Linked DNA regions of Homo sapiens: regions 2 and 3 are each linked to region 1. The links are contacts of gene promoters, found by promoter capture Hi-C in human tissues and cell types (Jung and others, 2019). All regions are on one chromosome and are shown on one strand. Each heading gives the region's core, a stretch centred on a gene start or on the middle of the fragment in contact. The rest is flanking DNA. Distances are from core to core; before and after follow the strand shown. Region 1 holds the start of PDGFC (platelet derived growth factor C). Region 2 has its middle 280 kb from the start of LINC02272. Region 3 overlaps LOC105377509 (a long non-coding RNA gene).

Region 1 (4,365 bases), core at 316-2,815:
GAGACAGGCGGGTGAAATTTTCAAGAATGAGACAGATGGGTGAAGTTTTCAAAGGTTTCTAAAAGGGAAAAACAAGAAGACTAGGATATTCCAAGCAGAAAGGTCTGGTTGGTTGGCCCCAGTTGGTGTTCGCATATAAGAAGAGGGCTTGGCATTTTCCTCACCACTGAAGAAGGATCAGCCCCTGGTTTGGTCCAGTAAGAATATGTTCTTGCCCAAATGCCACTCCTTAGTTTCAGGGACATTGCTATTTTGGTTTTCTGTTCCAGCCCAAGTGTTCTTGATGGTCGAATTGTTTGCATTGACTTTTTTTCCACAAGAAGTTGGGTGATATTGCTGATTTGCCTGCCATGGCACTTCCTTGTTTTCATTTTGATTATTACTCAAAAATAGCTTCATTTTAAAATTCAACTTTTCTGACTCTCTGCTTGTGCCTTTAACACATTGACAATGATTTTCTGCTTCTCCACAAAGAAAGCACGTTGGATCCTGTCACAGACATATTTAGCAGACATGGAACCACCATAAGCCCTGCTTGGCATGTGTGTTTCATTTCAGACTACCTCATGAGAACTTTAGGTCTTAAAGCATCGGCCTCTCTCTCCAAGTCAGCCTGAACACAAGCCACAAGAGATTTCAGTTCTTTCTCGACCTTTTTGGTGTAAATGTAAACAATTCTATCACCAGGGGTTCAGGGCAGCCTAGTTTTGTTAGAGGCTGTATTGTAGGAAAGTCCAAGGTTGCAGGATCATTCTGAGTCCCTTAGACACCATTCTCAGAAGAGCTTGCTATTAGCTTAATGCTGCCCAACTACTACGTATGCTTCACGAGGGCAGGGACTTTTGTCTGTTTTCACTGCTACGGCTCCAACCTCTAAACAGTGCCCGACATAGTAGGCATTCAGTAAATATAGTACTTGTTAAATGGATGTTATTTTGGCTGCCTTTACTTTTGCTTTATTTGTCCTGCTTTACGGAGCTGGAAATTGGAGGAAAGCCTTTGAATTCATTTCCCTTCTTCCTTCTGTTCTGAAACTCTGGCCAAGGGTCCTAGCAAAGACCTTAGGGAGTGGGGAGCCCTCCTGGAAACTAATGACAAGTCAGGCGACAGGGGGCGGGAGAAGGAGAGCTGCAGGAAGTTCTTTCCCACTTACTTCTGCAGCACCCTTCACCACCCATCGTGCTCTGTATTTGGGGTTAGAGGTGTTCCGTGGAAGGGAAAGCAGGGGCCGCCTTGGCCGCGTTCCTCTCCTGGGCCACCGGGGTCTTGCCCACAGCGAGTCCCGCAGCACCCCCTGTCTGCGCAGCACCTGTTGACAGCCAGTGGGCGGCCAAGCCCGCTCGCGCGGACGCGTCCCAGGGCTGCCCCTCCCAGAGGCGCTGACCCCCGCCCGCCCCATCGGCCGCCTGCGGGAGAGCCGCTGAGCCGCCCCCGCTCGCCAGGCGCGCGCTCCGCCCGGGCTCGGCCCACGGCCCCCACCTCCTGTCTGCCGCCCGGCGGGGGGAAGGTAGAGAAGGGGAGGGGACAAGCCGGATCCTCCCGGCCGCCCCGGCCTTCCCTCTTCACCCCGTGCGGAGACGCCGCGCGTAGCCCCGAGGTTAGCGCGGAGCCCGAGGCGTGGGGGGAGGGGACGGGGAACAACCGGAGCCCCGCGGTGACCCCGAGCGGCCGAATTGCCCCAGGCTTTGAGGAGCGGGGGACGAGCCCGAACAAGGTGAACTTTGGTCGCGGAAAACTCAAGCCAGGTGCCGGAATCCGTGCTGCGGCGCTCCGAACCCGGGGCCAACTGCGCTCCGGGCTGAGGAGCGGGAGCCCCGCGGCCTCTCTCCGCCTGCGCCCGGGCCGCCGTCGGCCCGGAGCCCCCCGGCCCCGCTCCGGCGCCCCGGCCCGTGGGACCCGCCGCGGCGCCCTCGCCTTGTTTCTTCCCCCTCCCCCTTCGGGGGTGGGGGGTGGGGCGGGGGAGAGGGGCGCCCGGAGAGCCGCATCTATTGGCAGCTTTGTTATTGATCAGAAACTGCTCGCCGCCGACTTGGCTTCCAGTCTGGCTGCGGGCAACCCTTGAGTTTTCGCCTCTGTCCTGTCCCCCGAACTGACAGGTGCTCCCAGCAACTTGCTGGGGACTTCTCGCCGCTCCCCCGCGTCCCCACCCCCTCATTCCTCCCTCGCCTTCACCCCCACCCCCACCACTTCGCCACAGCTCAGGATTTGTTTAAACCTTGGGAAACTGGTTCAGGTCCAGGTTTTGCTTTGATCCTTTTCAAAAACTGGAGACACAGAAGAGGGCTCTAGGAAAAAGTTTTGGATGGGATTATGTGGAAACTACCCTGCGATTCTCTGCTGCCAGAGCAGGCTCGGCGCTTCCACCCCAGTGCAGCCTTCCCCTGGCGGTGGTGAAAGAGACTCGGGAGTCGCTGCTTCCAAAGTGCCCGCCGTGAGTGAGCTCTCACCCCAGTCAGCCAAATGAGCCTCTTCGGGCTTCTCCTGCTGACATCTGCCCTGGCCGGCCAGAGACAGGGGACTCAGGCGGAATCCAACCTGAGTAGTAAATTCCAGTTTTCCAGCAACAAGGAACAGAACGGTGAGTCTTTCCCCCATTCTCCCCCTGCTTGTTTCTCGCTGTGTGTGTTAACGTTGGCATTGTGCGTTGGTATGTGATATATACCAGACTGTGAAGGTATCTTTGGTCTCTCATTACATGCAAATGTGCGCTGCGTTCATTGGCATGGACTGTTAAAGGTTAAGTGTAGTTTGCAACTTCGGGAGCTGCCACAAAGCTCCAAGAGGGCAACGTGAGTGCCACTGCTGAGTGAGGACATTCTGGGAGCGATTGTGAACGTCATTTCAAATGCACATTGCAGGTTCGCTCATTGCTAAAGTTAGAAGTTCAAGAACTGCCTCTAAAAACGAATCCAAAATGAATGAGCCTTGGCATGTTTGACTTTACTCAGATTTGGGGAGGGCGAGGGGGGTCGGTCAGGAAATATATCAGCCGCATTAATTGAAGCACTCTAGGTCGAAGTCATCAATTAATCAATGAGTAGATAGGAAATATAGAGGTCAAGAGGCTGTGTGGTCGTTTTTAGAGGAATTAAAAAGTGTATTTCTCTTGCTCCCTAGTTTTTGTTTTTTAAACTTGCCTTTGTACTCTGAAGTCCTTACCTTTCTGGTGGTGTGTTTTTGTATGTGTTGGTGAATGACTGCTATTTTGTGTGTGCTGGAAACGACTTAATCCTGCATAGGAAATGAGAATTACTTTCAGCTTTCAAGTGTACCTGAAATGTTTAGAAAACTCTCAGATGCAAGTTCCCTTGGGCTGGGATTGCACAGAGCTGGAGAAAGGCTCCTTTCATAAAGCCAGGGCAGCTTCAGGGTGTGTAATTTGCTTAGCCTCTGAACCCATATGATTTACATCATTCAATTTCTAAACTCTTTTTCTCTTCATCTACCATTATGAAGTCATTTTTGAGAATACTTTGTAAATAGAAATTTTATACTGCACATGAAACCACAATGTTCATGTTAGGCTGTCTAAAATTGGAATATTTAACGCCCTGTTTACAAATGGTGGCTCTTACTGTAATTTGAAAAGGAATATACATGTTTTTACTGCTTTGTATATCATCTATTCAGAATGCAAGGATTCTGTCACTTGATTAACCATGCAAAATGAACACAAGTGGCATACCTACAAAATTAAGATAGGATGTGCTATAGTTTTAAGTCAGAGTGATTTTTTTTCCTTTTCATATTGGGGTGTTTCAAGACTTCAACTTTGAATTTAAACTCTATGAAGTGTTCATGTTTAAGAAAGCACAGAAAGTTTTAGGGTATAAAAGTAGATAAAATAAGGATTCTGCCGACTTTTGCAAACGTTATTTGTATTTGCTGTTGCGCAGCAAGACATAGTATCACATTTATCAGCTAATATTAGTGTGGTGCTTCTTACAACTTGCTAATGTGATGCCACATGGCACCTGCAGGCTCCTTGAGCTGCTGATCAAAGGGCAGCCTAGGGATGTATCTCTAATCACAGTAGCTGCAGAGGTCTGGGGGAAAGTGATCAAAGGAGCCACAGCACCAGCTGTACCCGTGCAGGAAACACATCAGACCAACCTTTGTTCTTTCTCATGTAAAATAAATGTCCAGTTCAAAATATTGCTTCTTACTAGCCAAGCTCCTCCATAATGACAACAATGCACAATATTCCTGGCTTCCTGGCTTCTGTTTTTTATTGTTCCTGTCCCATATCATTTCTCCTATTGCCTTGTCTTATCAAGCCTCTCTTGGCATCTGCCCGAATCTCTTTGCTGACCTGTGCTTCTCTTTGTCCTTTCCTTTTAGTTCTCTCTTGTGATCCCCATGCTA
Region 2 (4,109 bases), core at 780-3,279, 610 kb after region 1:
CTAGAATAAGAGAACATGCCTTTCAACGAAATAAAAATGTGGAATTGATGTATTTTACTTCTTTTTTTATAGCTATATCATGTACATGAAGACAAGAAAAAACCTTAAAATGGAAAATGTTAACCTTTTAAATAAAATATTAGAGCTTATGAGGGCTAATAATTCTGCTGTTTTAAAATTTTGGTCAAGTATGTTAGCCATATACTTAGCCTTACAGTTTCAAAATCACTCTACTCTTGAGTCTCATTTGAATTTTATTCTTTCTGTAATTAACACTAATAAGTACCTATGTGTACATAGAAAATTTTATTTTTAAAAAGTTTTTATGAAAAATAATATAACGATTCATTTAGAGTATATTGAGAAATAAAGCTAAGAGTAATTTAAGCCTCACACTCAACCAGAAATCTAAATGCCAGCTTATTATTTTTAAGACTCTCCGTTTAAGAATCAACCTGTTTGAACATTGCTAAAAATGGGTAAGGGTAAACAATGGGTAAGGATAAACCTATTTCATTTTTCTAGCATTTTCTCTTGACTTTAGAAGATCATGTTTTAAAATATTACAGTTGAATATAGAATGACATACATCATGGCTGTGCATATTTATTTTTTATTATAATTGTCTGCTTTCCACTCACCCCCAATAACAAAATGGCAGGCAACTGCCTGGATGGTCAAATAGCTCTAGGAAACAAGGTAGTTTCACCCCTTACTGAAAATCTACTACATTGGCAAAATATAGAGGTAATTTGAAGGACAGAAACAAAACAGAAGGCAAACATCGGTTCTTCTCATATGATGTGAAGTTATAATTATTGTCTCATAAAAATATTAGCTTTGAATACCATTAGGAAAGTATGATAAACAATACTTATTTAGTGAGATCTATGCAAAATTGAGAAATCAAGTGCCCCATAGCCCAATCATCCCTCCATCCTTTTTTCTTGAAATATGACTTACCCACCTTTATCTTTTCACATTCAATTATTTACAAACATTCTGACTCGTTTCATCCAGTTTCCTCTCAATATTTTGTTCTTCAGCTTTCACTGAAGTTAAAACTGCTTTTACATCAGACACATATGATTTAGAATCACCAAATTCAAGGACCTATTTTCTCTCTGAATACCCATCAGTCTCTAGAGGCATTTGACACTGTTTAAACTGGGACTTAATCTATCACCTAAGGCCCATTACTTGTATAAAAGCATTAAACAAGTTCCATCAGTTTTTTCTTTGCAACATTTTTCTCATGTCTTTTTCAAAAACAATGGGAATATCTTGGTCCTGAAAGTCACCTGAATTATTGTAAATATCTCCTGGCTAATATTTCTGGTTTCCTTCATCTCCTTCCATTCTTTAAACAATTCATAAATATGATTAGGATACAATGACAAATATTTTCTCCAGAGTTTCTCATGATGGGTTGAATTTTAGCTCATTAACTCAATCCAATATTTTACTCAAAGAAAATACTTGATTAAAACTAACCAGCATCTTGCCCAACTTACTATTCATATAGATTAAATTTATATGTCAACATATTTAGATGTATGTATCCTAGATAGATAATATTTTCCTGTTAACATAGCAAGGTGGCCTTTGGCAGCCAGGGTATTGGCTCCTGCTCTTAGGACACATAGTTGTTTTAAGTCATATAAAGTGATGAAGCCTCTACATGTATAAGGTGAAGAAAGATGTGAAGTCCCAAAAGCAGAGGGCTCGTTTGTAGAACAGAATAGTAGAGTAGAAATGTAATATTTTACCCCTTGTTGCTTTTCCAGTTGCTGATTATTTGAAAATTAATGGTGGTAACTCATGCAAATCATATGAATTACGCACAAAGAACAAACTAGAAGAAAATGTACCAATACTTAAGAGTTAGAAAATAATTTTAATATTCTCTTTAATACTTTGCAGTATTTTAAATTTATTACAATTATGGACATATTGGGTTTTTTATAGCTAGGAGTAAAATATGCACATTGATTAGATGTTTTGTAAGTGAGAAACCACAATTTTATAAGCTATAGTGCCTCTCCCCACAGCAGCTGAGCAATTGAACCAATTTAGCAACTGAAGTTACTTATTGCTTTACATATTTTAAATGGACTTTTTAAGAGCAGAATCTGATTTTGAATATATAAAACAATAGACTTAAACTACTTCAATACTCATAGAAATCTTATAACTTATTATCAGAGAAATATAAACATATTATGGGAAAAGAGAATTAGTGAACCTATTTCAATATCAATGATTTATCCATCTTGTCCACATTTTATAGATATAGATAGATTTATTGGCTCAACTAAATTTTTTCCAAACATATAATTATGTTTAAGTAGATATTTTAAATTCTGTAAGAAGTAGATGGTCTTTTAGTAATGATAATTTTTTATCTTACCGTTAATCCAAGTTATCTTTTTTATTACATTTGCTTGATTTCATATTACCATTGCAATATTGAAAATTCTAAATGCATCATTCTTACAATTTCAAACATTATTTGAGCCTTGAAGAAAAGGGAAAAATCCTAAAACTCATCTCTTAATTATATATAAAAACTGAATTTTGGCTAGGCACAGTGGCTCACCCCTATAATCCCAGCACTTTGGAAGGCGAAGGTGGGTGGATCACCAGAGGTCAGGAGTTGAAGACCAGCCTGGCCAACATGATGAAACCCTGTCTCTACTAAAAATACAAAAAATTGGCTGGGCGTGGTGGCAGGCACCTGTAATCCCAGCCACTTGGGAGGCTGAGGCAGGAGAATCACTTGAACCCGGGAGGTGGAGGTTGCAGTGAGCCTAGATTGTGCCACTTCACTCCAGCCTGGATGTCAGAGTGAGACACCGTCTCAAAAAAAAAAAAAAAAAAAACCAAAAAACTGAATTTTAAAATCTAAGCATTCTTTTGTCTTCCATAATTTTCAAGATTTAAGATATATTAGGAATTTGTCATAATTATTCAACTATTGAAGAACGAAATCTTGAAAGTATATAAACTCAACAGCCACTACATGATTTATTTTGCTTATTTTACTAAGTCCTTCTAGATTAGCTCACTTTAAATATTTTTTCTTTCCAATTTCTGTCCATTCTCTTTTTCCCAGTTACATACATTTTTATTTCATTCAACTATTAGTTCTGTAAGTTATAATGGAAAAACATATATCATTGTAAAGAGTGGATCATACTGTTTGTCTGATCATTTTATAATTTAGTCCAATGGGTTCAAATTCCTCCACATATGTAGCTTTAAGTCCTATTTACCATACCATTTGAAGGACTGATCACTTTCTTCATTTTGTTTTCTTTTCTGTCAATCATCTCAGAATGTTATGAACCTTTTCATATTAATAATTGATAATACAGACTTCTCAGTTGTATCTATTATATAGTGATAAATTTATTCTCAGTAAAATTATTTTTCTTCTGATTACTCTATTACTCATTTACTTAATGTTAAAGAAAACATCTTAAAGGCAGTTAGATAAAAATGTCGGATCATACACAGAGGGAACCCCATCAGGCTAACAGTGGATTTCTCAGCAAAAACTTTGTAAGCCTGGAGTGATTGTGGGCATATTTTCAGCATTCTTCAAGAAAAGAAATTTCAACCAAGAAATTAATATCCCACCAAACTAAGTTTCATAAAGCAAAGAAGAAATAGTTTCCAGACAAGCAAGCATGAAGATAATTCATTACCACTAGACTAGCCTTACAAGAGATACAAGAGAACTAAACATGGAAACTAAAGAATGATACCTACTACCAAAAAAAAAAAAAAAACACACTTAAGTACATAGCCTACAGACCCTGTAAAGTAACTACACAATAGAAACTACAAAGCAACTAGCTAACAACATCATGATAGGATCAGAATCTCACATATCAATATTAATGTGGAATGTAAATGGTCTACATTCCCCACTTTAGGGACACAGAATAGCAAATTGGTTTTAAAAAAAGAGACCTATCCACCTGCTGTCTTCAGGAGACTCATCTCACATAGAACAACACCACTAAGCACAAAGTAAGGGTTGGAGAAAGAGTTACCATGCAAGCAGAAAACAAAAAACAGCAGGGATCACAATTCTTGTGACA
Region 3 (4,470 bases), core at 1,472-3,971, 990 kb before region 1:
CAAACAAAAAGAAACATATTATCAGCATCATGGATTTTACCAACACACTTTAGCTGAGTATATTTTATGTGTAAAGAACTACTAATAAGCCACGGAACACCTTGTTACTTCATTATACAGAATTCAGTTGGGGAATCCAGCTACTAATAATATATGTTAGACATTTATGACATATTACATTAAATATCTATGCATAGTATATATTAGTCACTAATAAATGTGAAATGACTTATAAGTGCTATTGAATGTGATAATCAGAATTAAATAAAGTAAACATCACCAGGGTCTCATTAGTTCTCTGAAAAGTTCATATTATAAATGGGCCATTAAAGTTACATGGAAAGTAAGAGTAGAGTTTGGAAGAAATAGAATTAATCTGCCTGATTCTCTACAACCTAAAGTTATGGGATATTACTGGAGTGAGAGCTTTAGTTATATGAATGGCACTATAATATCAGGTGGTTTTAAAATCATCCTTCCATTATTAAGATCCACTTGTAATACTAAAAGAGTTTGTCTTTTTGTAAGGGGAAGGACATTACTACCCTAAAAACAACATATATTCTATTGTGCTACGAATCAAGAGTATACAAGTAGAAAGAACATGGCACATCAAGGCTGAAGAAGGGGCTGATCCTTTATAGCTTAGTTATATTTTTGCTACACTGTTTGGATTCTGAAATAAAGATATATGGTTAAAGAAATATGTTGTGTAGCCGCTTTTATTGACAGAATGAGAATTGATTTTGTGCATGCCATGCAGTCCAATGATATACAGTTGTATATACAAATGATATATAATGTTTCTTGATTTTGAGAAGCTTTTACATGGCCTGGGAACCTAAATACAAACAAAAGAAACCATATAAACTATGTGTAATGGGATAGACAAGTGGGATTATTTCTAGCCATTCATGATGAATACTAAAAGGGTGTTGTGCTCCTCCAGAAGCAAGGAAGAGGAAAACTCAGCAAAGCATGGAAATTAGGCCCTTTTGCCACCAAATTATTTAAAAATACATTGACTACTTACTGTGTTCATTGCGTGGGCAAAAAGAAGAAGCTTCTGCTGTCATATTCTTTTTCTTTTTTCTTTTTTGAGATGGAGTCTCGCTCTGTCACCAGGCTGGAGTTCAGTGGCGTGATCTTGGCTCACTGCAGCCTCCACCTCTTAGGTTCAAGCTATTCTCCTGCCTCAGCTTCCCGAGTAGCTGGGATTACAGGCACGCACTACCATGCCCAGCTAATTTTTGTATTTTTAGTAGAGACAGGGTTTCACCATGTTGGCCAGGATGGTCTCCATCTCTTGACCTTGTTATCCGCCCACCTCAGCCTCCTGAAGTGCTGGGATTACAGGCATGAGCCACTGAGCCAGGTCTTGCTATCATATTCTTAATGAAATAATATTAATTTAATGTGTACATAGTACTTTAACTTTCATAAAGAACTTTAATGTATGATCTTACTTGATTCTCACAGCAGTCCTTCAAAGTAGGCATACTTCTTTATCATCATCTATTTAAAAATGAAATAAATAAGTAATGAAAGTAAAAGTTGAATAAGGTATTTGAAATGCCTTTCTTTCTTAGAGAAGTTATATACTTTTTTGCTTCTTTTTTAATTTTGGAAAGAAAATTTGACTACTTTTGTTATTTCAAGGAGGCTGTGTAGATTGGAAATTATATTTTGTTTGGTTGTTCCTCAAGGTGTATTTTTCTCCCCCATCTAACTTTTGCTCATCAGGACACGCCAAGTTGATGCTACGTAACAGAAAGGTGTTGATGAGAAAGCCTTCATCACCTCATTAGTTTATAGTCAAATGTGATTTACTTGGGAGGAAAGTAGCCACTGTCACCCCACCTGTCAGGATAAAAGAGAATAAAAAGTTACAGCTGTATGCCTAATGTAATTCTGGCTCCATTGGGGAGAATAAAAATAAATGTTCTCATTTTAAATTGCCTCAGGAAAAAGCCCTGAACATTATTAACCTGGCGTAATGTTTTCAGGCAGTCACTACTGTAAAACTCAGGTCCCTGAAAAGCATGATGCAGTAGCCCATATTGGCTTCTTATGGAAATAGTGTTAAATTATGCAACTTCAAGTTTGCCTCAATATATTTTAATAATTTAACACTGCTGTTGATTTCATCAACAGGCAAAAAGTATTGATTCATGAGAAAAAGCACATAATTTCATATGTAAAATCTAGTTAAGCAACAATTAAAAGAAATGCAATATTGTAGTCACCATTATATACCTTTTAAGTCTTGTAGGTAAAGGGAGAAATGATATATATTTGGGAATACTGTAAAAAGATACATGATACTACAGTGGGAAGAAGGGGAACAAACAGGAAAGAGTAAGGTATATCAGGGTTTATGCTGGAGTGTATTGAATTATTAATAAATACTTCAATAGCATCCTGAGATTATAGATAGCATACATGACTTTAAAGGAAAATAAATGTTTCATCTGGGACCAAGTAAAATATCAACAAGTAGGAAGTTTTATCATGTTTCTAACAAATCCCACCCTTCTTGATGCGAATTGTTTTGTTAGTGCTGGTGAAACTGTATACTTGATTTCAGTAATGTTGGGTACCATGTCTATGTTATTTTTCCTATTTTATGGATTTTTTTACCTTTTGATTTGTATTTTGCTTTTGAGTAGGTAAAATTCTTTTACTTTGCCAACCAGTCTTGGAGATAAGTCATAGATATGGTTTCCAATCATTCAAGAAAATACTTCATTTGCTTGTTTGTACTTAGAATCCACTCTGTTTTCTGAATATTTGCCCTTTTGAGTTTCATCAGATTGTGTGTTGTTAGACAGTCCTCACCAGATTCGTGGAGCTTTTGGTTTTTATTAGACATTCTTTGGGTATACTTAGGAAGTAGTTTAATGTCTTTGAATTCAAGTTGCAGAGTCTGATACTTTGCTCACAGTCACAGTGGGAAAATAATGAGAAAAATAACCACCCCAGCCTTTGTTACCATAGCGGAAAGTGAAGGCGAGAGGAAAGGTACTATAAATATACAGTTTCTCCCCGTCTCTACCGAGATGTCATCAAGTATTAAAGCTACTTGTTGCTGAATATGAACACCATATAGAAGTCATTGGTGAGCTTTATTGAAATAACACCATAAACTGAATACAGACTTAGGGTTGAATAGTGGGAAATTATATGCTGCATAAAAGGAAGGAAATTTTCCCTGGTGTTTTAAAACTGCATATGACAGTGTAAATCAGCGATAAAGGCCTGGTAGCTATCAGGAAGAAAGAGAAGCTGTTGAATGGGTTTTGATAATTATCCCAAAGCTTAGATAGACTTCAGCCTTTGATATATGTAGCACAATCTAAAAATAGCTGATTTAATTGCTCAACAGTTGTCTGCTCATTAGGCCTTAACCTTAGTAATGCATCAATGAATGACATCCAAGGCTTCAGCCCTCCAAATCTCTGCACTTGAAAATCCTCTTGTCATGCTCACCTTAATGCTGTTCTCTAAGGAAGGTATTTGCCAATGGGGAAGACTCTTGCATATAGAATATTGGAGTGTGGTTTCAAAACTTAGGTTAAAAGCTGTCAAATCTGTGCCTTGAGTGAAGGCCAAGTTTTCCATAGATCAAAGGTAATTCAGTATTGACTGTAGTCCAACTTCCCCTCAGGCAAAAAATGCCAGTTAAGCTGCTTTGGTTTAAAACAGGATGTCAGGCTAATTTTATCTTTTTTTTTTTTATTAAATTTTCTTGTGCAACTTCTTTATCCAGCTCAGCAATCTGATGCTCTCATTTCTGCATGAGACTGCATTTTTAGAGCGAGGAAATCATGGTCTTATCAAACGGGCAAAACCCTTACTTGGAAATATGGGAAAAGTCATTCTAACCTAGTTGTTCTTCAGTATCTCTTGCCTCCTCCTTAGAAATAGAAATTTTATCAAGGGATGCAGCCTTCAAAACAAAAACTGTATTTTCCCTTCTCCCTTACTACTAGGTGAGGGCTGGTGATTGGGTTCTAGCCAATAGGGTATAAATGGAAGTGATCTGTGCAGTTTCTAGAAGTATCCCCTCAGAAACAGCTGGTGCACATATTTGCCCTTTGGTCTTTGTCTTTTCCATCCTGTGGTTTGGAACATAGATGTGATGGCTGGATTATCATCTTGGAGTATGATTGTGAGGGCTGTATCCTAAAATAACAGAAGAGAAAAGTGTAACAAGTCCCAGTGTCTGAAGACTTTTCAGAACTCCTTTGTCAGCTTTGTAGGACTACAAAGGGCATTGCAGGCTGTTTTGCTTGCCCTGAAACTGTGAAAATCCAGAGGGAAACTAAACTTCTAACTTGTTTATTTTTATTTTTTATTTATTCATTTAAAACTTTTATTTTAGGTTTGGGGGTACATCTGAAGCTGTGTTACATAGGTGAACTTGCTTCGCAGGCATTGGTTGTACAGATTATTTTATCACTCCGGTAT

The links. Contacts are between HindIII fragments. The study calls those that stand out against the background at their distance.
Region 2: a contact is called between a fragment that was not itself captured here and the fragment with the promoter of PDGFC in region 1, in 1 of the 25 tissues and cell types used here (mesenchymal stem cells).
Region 3: a fragment that was not itself captured here is called in contact with the fragment with the promoter of PDGFC in region 1 in 1 of the 25 tissues and cell types used here (dorsolateral prefrontal cortex).

What each region holds. Positions count from the first base shown.
Region 1 is chr4:156,968,999-156,973,363 of GRCh38, reverse strand. PDGFC (platelet derived growth factor C) reads left to right here and starts at 1,565. Exons shown (of 6, transcript NM_016205.3): 1 at 1,565-2,578. The coding sequence starts at 2,461. RefSeq lists an enhancer at 1,278-1,778. The HindIII fragment of the contact is 11,394 bases long and covers 1-4,365 here.
Region 2 is chr4:156,358,130-156,362,238 of GRCh38, reverse strand. No RefSeq gene overlaps it. Among named protein-coding and RNA genes, the nearest start is that of LINC02272, 280 kb to the left of the region's middle. The HindIII fragment of the contact is 6,574 bases long and covers 1-4,109 here.
Region 3 is chr4:157,963,917-157,968,386 of GRCh38, reverse strand. The region is part of intron 2 of LOC105377509 (a long non-coding RNA gene); the gene reads left to right. Among named protein-coding and RNA genes, the nearest start is that of GASK1B-AS1, 200 kb to the left of the region's middle. The HindIII fragment of the contact is 3,557 bases long and covers 943-4,470 here.